Linked DNA regions of Homo sapiens: region 2 is linked to region 1. Evidence: promoter capture Hi-C in human tissues and cell types (Jung and others, 2019). All regions are on one chromosome and are shown on one strand. The core of a region is centred on a gene start or on the middle of the fragment in contact, and the rest is flanking DNA. Distances in the headings are between cores, read along the strand shown.

What was found. The method cuts DNA at HindIII sites, captures the fragments that hold promoters and counts their contacts. A contact is called where the count stands out against the background at its distance.
Region 2: a fragment that was not itself captured here is called in contact with the fragment with the promoter of SGSM1 in region 1 in 2 of the 25 tissues and cell types used here (neural progenitor cells and thymus).

Annotation. Positions count from the first base shown.
Region 1 is chr22:24,803,777-24,807,460 of GRCh38, reverse strand. It overlaps SGSM1 (small G protein signaling modulator 1), which reads right to left and starts at 1,250. Exons shown (of 25, transcript NM_001098497.3): 1 at 1,117-1,250; 2 at 977-1,020. The coding sequence starts at 1,135. RefSeq lists a silencer at 1,203-1,412. The HindIII fragment of the contact is 18,100 bases long and covers 1-3,684 here.
Region 2 is chr22:24,718,332-24,722,015 of GRCh38, reverse strand. It overlaps PIWIL3 (piwi like RNA-mediated gene silencing 3), which reads left to right. Exons shown (of 21, transcript NM_001255975.1): 20 at 2,121-2,268; 21 at 2,428-2,982. The coding sequence ends at 2,544. Among named protein-coding and RNA genes, the nearest start is that of PIWIL3, 55 kb to the left of the region's middle. The HindIII fragment of the contact is 7,147 bases long and covers 1-3,684 here.

The DNA of each region.
Region 1 (3,684 bases), core at 1-2,500:
ATCACTCATTCACAGACTCATGCACCACACAATATACACACACAGACCCACCCTCACAAAAACAGATACAAAGACACACATAGATACGTGTACACACAGTGCAAAGAGATACACTTAGGTATCTCCAGACAGATGCACAGACATTCTCATACGCACACACTCACAGCCACAGGTCCTCACCCATGCAGGTATACACACCAGAGCACGCAGTCCAGGCATCGAGATGCTACCCCAAGGACTATAAATTCTGTCTATGGGGTTCTGGGAGGTCATTGGCCATGAGCCCTAAAGACTAGACTGCCCCCCTCTCCACGCGCTGACCCCAAGGAGAGTGGAGGGGCAGAGGAATGGCAGAACCTCTCTGATTCTCACCCTCTGAATGTGGGGTGGGAGTGGGGCGGGGGGAGTGAAGGGACCCCTACTGCCAGGGGAGCAGCTCACTGACCCGTGACTCTCAGGGAGGGAGTCCCCTGGCTCTTGGAGGTGGCTCCAAGGACTGAGAATTCGGGGGCTGGGAAGGGAGGTTTTATTTTCCTTCTGCCTTTTCCTGAAGCGTGCCCCACCTTCGGCAGCCCCATTCAGAGCCCCTCCTCCAGCACACCCTGTGGGGGGCGTCCCCCTAGCAGCTTCTCTCTCTTGGAAGGTCCCCTTCCTGAGCCGCGCCCACCTGCTCCTCCACAAGAGGAGGTCCTATCGGGATACATCCAGGTGTGCCCCACACCTGGAGGGCCCTCACGCTACATCCGCCCCCGCAAAAAGCCTCAAATGGGCCAAAGCCTCCCCACACCTACGCCCACCCCCAAACTCCCTCGCTGCGCCTCCTGCCCTGCGGGAGGTCAATGCCCACCCAGGTGAGCCCCACACCTGTTCTGGCCGCCCCCCCGCCGCCAGAGGCCACCCTTCCACGAAGACTCTTTTCCCGTTTGGCCGCTGCTGCCGGGGGAGTCCTGCCCAGTGCCCCCACCCCGGCACCCACCTCCTTCTTGACGGTGCGTAGCAGCCTCTGTCGGGTCTCCGCCTCTGTGGGACAAGAAACGAGAGCCGCGGGTCAGCCGAGAGAGGGTGCGGGGGCCGGGCGCTGCCCTCCCGCCGCCCTCGTGTCCAGCGGCCTCTTACCCGCGGGGGCCGAGGCCATGGCTCCGAGCGCTGCGTTCCGAGTCCCAGGAGGCGGTGGCGGCGGTGGCGGCGGTAGCTCCTCCGGCCGCGGCGCTGCTGCTGCAGCCGCGGCGGGGCGGGGCCGAGCGCTGAGTGACGGCCGGAGGGCGCCCGACGTCAGGACCCGAGGCGGCCGCCCCACCCCTCCGGAAAGCCACCGCTCGGCGGGGCAGCCGGGTCGCCTGCGCCAGGAGCCTTCGCGCCAAGCACGCACGCTCCCTCCCGCGCACCCAGCGCCCGAGCCTCTCAGGCTCCCCCAACCTCCACGCCAGCGCCCGCGTCCCTCCCTCTTCCCTAGGGCGGGGAAGGAAAGCGTCCGTCCTGAACCCTCCTCTGTGGGCCAGGCTCCAGGAAGTCACAGGAAATGGTGGGGCTACTACCGATATTCTCCAAGCCTCAGTTTTCTCATCTTTAAAATGGGTATAATGTGGTATAAAATGGGCATAATGGGTCTCAGAACGATCTGAGCCTTAAGTGAGATATTGGATGTGAAGCCCTTAATACAGACCCAGGGGGAAAGGCCAGCGAGCATAAATGCTTGCCACTGTTACTGTTATTATTATTAATTATTATTATTGAGGGTCTTCCAGCCGGTCGCGGTGGCTCACGCCTGTAATCCCAACACTTTGGGAGGCCGAGGCGGGCAGATCACTTGAGGTCAGGAGTTCGAGACCAGCCTGGCCAACATAGTGAAACCCCGTCTCTACGAAAATACAAAAATTAGCCGGACATGATGGCGAGCTGCCTGTAATCCCAGCTACTGGGGAGGCTAAGGCAGGAGAATCTCTTGAACCCGGGAAGCAGAGGTTACAGTGATCCAACATGGCGCCATTGCACTCCAGCCTGAGCGACAGAGTGAGACTCCGTCTCAAAAAATAAAAAAAATACAAATACAAAAATTAGCCAGGCATGGTGGCGTGCTCCTGTAATCCCAGCTACTCAGGAGGCTGAGGCATGAGAATTGCTTGAACCCTGGAGGCAGAGGTGTCAGTGAGCCAAGATTGTGCCACCACACTCCAGCCTGGGCAACAAAAGTGAAACTCCATCTCAAAAAAAAAAAAAAAAAAAAGAGTCTTCCAAGATACACTGGTTATCCATTCAGGAGAGGCCGGGACTTAAGTGGCTCCCTCCCCGACATGCAGGTCACTGGAGGAGTGGGGTTTTCCCAGGAGTCTGGCCCCAAAAGGAGGCACTTGTCAGCCAGGATCTCTGGGGCTGAGCAAGCAGTGGGCTCTGTGGGAAAAGCCTTGTTCCATCAAGAGCCCCTGGTCACCCCAAGTCCCTAACTGTATCCACCCAGAATGCAACTCAGGTCAATATTTATTGAGCACCTACTCTGTGCCAAGTGACTGTGCTAGAGATTTCTAAGTGAGCAAGACAGACAATGAACTCTGCCCTCATGGAGTTTAGGAGGCGGACAACAAAATATGTAAGAAAAGGACAGACCATGCTGGAAAGTTCTGGAGAAAAATTAAGTAGGCAAGGGGGACAGGGAGGGCCCAGACCCCTGGGGATCGTATTCTGAAGTAGGGTGGTTGAGGGAGGCCCCACTGAGCAGGTGACATTTAAGCAAAGAGGAAAAGGAGTAGGCCATGGGGATTTCTGGAGGAAGAGCAGTTGAGTCAAGGGAACAGCAAATGCAAAGTCCCTGAGGAGGGAGTGTGTCCAGTCAAACAGTGACAAATAGCACAGATGCCTGTGGGGCTGGAGTGGTGTGAACAATGGGGACGGTGGTGGGATGTTGGCCAGAGAGGTGCAGGGCCAAAACCCTGTATGACTTTGATGGTGATGTTAAGGATTTGCAATGCCTTTTAGGGTCCCCCAGTATTCAGGCCTTCCTTCAGAAGGACTAGAGGGCAGCTTAGAGTGCCTCTCCGTGCAGCAGTGGATCCAGAGCCCCCTTTTTTCCATTGGTCAGTGTCAGGGGTCTCTGGCCGTAAGCCACAGAAGCTGACTTTGGCTTCCTCAGGCAAAAGGAAATAAACTGGGAAGATAATATGTGATCCCAGAGCCCATGGGAGCCTGGAGAACTGGGAAATGGGATGAAATCAAGGTGGCTCTGGAAGGCCAGAAAGGGGAATCTTGGGAATATTTGCCTGGCAAGGACAGTGTGGTTAGGGCACTGCTGCTCTGGTAAAGAGAATGCCATTCGTTTAAGGTTTTCATCCTATGGAGGGAGTGCCTGATTGTCCTGACCTGGGACACAAGCCTGCCCATTGGCTTGGGGAGAGGTGTCTCAATCACAAACCCCTGCTCCACAATCTCCAGCAAGTCCCCCAGGAGAATGGGAAATGGTTGCTTGGCAGCAAAAATAATCATATATTGCGCACCTACTATGTGGCAGGCACTGCGCTAAGGGCTTTGGGTTTTGCTCACATGATCTTATTGACCCTCCTTCCACCCCACGCTAACCCTATGAGCCTTATGTCATTGACAAAGCCAAGCCTGGAGGGGGTTTCATCCCTGTTTGTTTAACAAGTGTGTGGCCGCCAGGATTCTGACCTGAGGACCAAAGTGATTGATCCATTA
Region 2 (3,684 bases), core at 468-2,967, 86 kb after region 1:
GAACCTGAACAAGGAAATGATGTGTTCAGAAAGTAATACTGAATATGCTACAAAATAGTTTCGTATAGTCAGCTCTGTTGTTCATGGACACAAGGAAGTAATTCCAAACAGTAATTTAGAAGTCTTTTTCTTGTTATGAGGATGCAAGTCATTATGAATTAGAGCCAGCCTTTAAGACATTAAGATTAGATACAACTTCCAGAAGATGAAATGGTTAGAGACATTCTATATAAAAATGTATTGAAATAAGAAAAGATATAAAAAGGAATAAAGGCCGTAAGAATATCTAATGAAAAGGTCAATTTGTATTTGAATATCTAACAAACATGAATATAGTCAAAACGAAGAAAAATCAGTGGAAGGGTTAAAGAGAAGGTTAGACATAAAAGAAAACAAATTGTTAACTGGAACATATGTTCACAAAATTCCCATAATGCAGTGGGGAGCCATAAAGATATGGAAGATATGAAAAAATGTTTAGAAAAATGTAAGGCAAAATAAGATTTGCTCTATACCAAATAGAAGTTTCAGTAGTAGATAAGATATGATGGGGGTGTGGTGGGGTGGAGCAATATTCAAAGAGAAAGTCTGAGATTCTGAATCCTAAGACTGAAGAATAACAAGATTTGAGCAAAAATCAATAAAAGTTCACACTTAGAAATGTTATAGTGAAACTTCAGCAGGCATAAGAAAATTTAAAAGCAACCACAGGAATAATATATTTACAAACAATAAAAATCACATTCAGCAAGAGTAGAAATCAGAATACTATGAAATATCTTTAAAATGCTTAAAAATAACCATCAAGCTAGAATTTGATACCCGGCTAACTTATCAAGGGTGACAGTGAAATACAAACATGCTCAGTTAGTGCCTATACAGTATATACATTAACAGATCCACCAGATACTCACTGAGAGAGCTACCCAAAAAGACTGTATTTCAGGAAGAAGGAAATCAAACAGTTAAGAGAGAATGAAATGCAAGAAGCAATGCTGATCAGTTACGATGGAGTATAAAAAAGCCTTGATTTCATACATGACAATTTATAGGGTATATTAAAACAAGACCTAAAATACTGGATATAGCACTTACATAGAAAAAGAATTATGAGGTCAAAGTATACACTAAGATTCTTTAGTTACCAGGGAAAATGATAAAGCTGCTGCTGCTCTATACTTGTCAATTATACAAATGAAAGACTTACTTGAAACCACAGTGGAATTAATGATATTCATACCAAGAGTTGAGGAGAAATGAAGTAAAATGAAGGAAAGGCAGAAACATTTGATCAATCTAACATAAGGCAGGAAAGGATTAAAGGATGGAGCAAATAAAAAGTATCATAAACATAAAGTACAACATAAGATTGTACACATAAAAATAAATTCAATATTTATAACACATAGATCAATCTTACCGGTTGTATTGTTTAAGAAGTTTAAGGCCAGGCGCAGTGGCTCATGCCTGTAATCCCAGCACTTTGGGAGGCCGAGGCAGGCAGATCATGAGGTCAGGAGATTGAGACCATCCTGGCTAACACGGTGAAACCCCATCTCTACTAAAAATATAAAAAATTAGCCGGGTGTGGTGGTGGGCGCCTGTAGTCCCAGCTACTCGGGAGGCTGAGGCAGGAGAACGGCGTGAACCCAGGAGGCAGAGCTTGCAGTGAGCTGAGATTGCGCCACTGCACTCCAGCCTGGGCGACAGAGCCAGACTCCGTCTAAAAAAAAAAAAAAAAAAAAAAAAAAAAAAACAGTTTAAATATAGTCCAGTGATTCTCAGCGAGGCAGCAGGCCTTCATCCAAGAATCTCCGAATAGAATTATCTATGGCCATATCAGATCAAATGTGCCAATCTTGTTTCTTCCTCTAGGTTTCAGTGCATGTACTTGAAGGCAAAATCCCACGAGAGTTACTGTGTCAGTGATTTAATTGCCTTCTATAGACTTGATTTCTCAAATCGTTGTTTATCAGTTAGGTTTCTAAATGTAAAGGAAACTTAATCTATAGAATAGATTTTTGTAAGCAATTATACTAAATGTTTTCATTTCAGACATTAAGTTTACTATATACCCTCTTTCTAAAATGAGCTGATACCCACATGTCCTATATTTCCAGGTATGACTTTTTTATTGTGAGTCAGTCTGTGCAAGATGGGACTGTTACCCCCACTCATTATAACGTCATCTATGACACGATTGGCTTGAGCCCAGATACAGTACAGCGTTTAACATATTGTCTATGCCACATGTATTATAATTTGCCAGTAAGTACTTTTTGTTACTTTTTTCTTCAGATTTTTTAAATGTACTATTCAACATTGAACAATGTTGGACCTCTGAACTGGCTTCTATGAATTTAAATTTAGGGAAAGTAGATGTAAAGTGAAAAAAATTTAGTTGTGTATTTTCTTTTCCTACTAAAGGGCATCATCCGAGTTCCAGCGCCTTGCCACTATGCCCACAAGCTGGCTTACCTCGTGGGGCAGTCCATTCACCAGGAACCGAATCGTTCCTTGTCAACTCGTCTCTTTTACCTTTGACCTGCAGAAGAAGACCTGATGTGCTAATGAAACCACAACGTGTAAGCCTGTCTTCCTTTTGAAGCAGGATGTCTGAAATATTTTCCTAGGTCCATAGCATTAAATTCTCATCGTTTTTGATTGGACACAGGAGAGATTCAGAGTGATATGTTCTACTCTCAATACTACCACAGACTGATTTTTCCAGAGAGGAGAACTGACAGGGTTTGGCTTGCAGTTTCCCTTTCAAATATGTGACAGAGATCTCACAGCTGAACGTGACTGAACATTTTCCACCCCAAGCAGGGCCACTCTAAGAATTGAAAAGATGGGGCATTCGTCACAGAGAGAGTACATCTGTGAACAAGTAAACTCTACTTGGAAAACTACGTTTACTTTATTTTTGAAACTTTTTTTTGTTAAAGGACAGGAAAGGAAGACATAAAAGTAACAACACTGAATTTCTGTTTAATATTTGTATTTAGAATTAACCTATTACTGATGAGCTATATAGGAAGCATTGTGTTATTCCTTGTGCTGGGGTGGGAATTTGGATGGATTTTTGGTGGAAAGGTCATAAGGAAAGCTGGATTACGCCTGTAATCCCAGCACTTTTAGAAGCCTGAGGTGAGCGGATCACCTGAGGTCATGAGCTTCAGACTAGCCTGGCCAATATGGGGAAACCCCGTCTCTACTAAAAATACAAAAATTAGCCAGGTGTGGTGGCGGGTGCCTGTAATCCCAGCTACTCGGGAGGCTGAGGCAGAAGAATCGCTTGAACCCAGGAGGCAGAGGTTGCAGCAAGCTGAGATCATGCCACAGCACTCCAGCCTGGGCAACAGAGTGAGACTCTGTCTCAAAAACAAAACAAAACAAAACAAAACAAAAGATTGGCAGCTTAGGAACACAAACATTTGATTAGTCTTTCCACAAAGAAGGAAAACTAAGCTTTCTTAATGAATTTGTTTAATTCATTCTATTGCACAGTCCCAGTGTATTATGTTAGCTGTATCATAATCAGAAGTCTTCAGTAAGTTATTTAAGTGAAGCTATGACTTTTTTTTGAAAGCGGACTTTTTTCTTTCCACCTAAAAGTATCCTTAATTAGACTCAGGAAACAATGGGTTTTTGTTGTCGTTGTTGTTGTTGATGTTGTTTTTT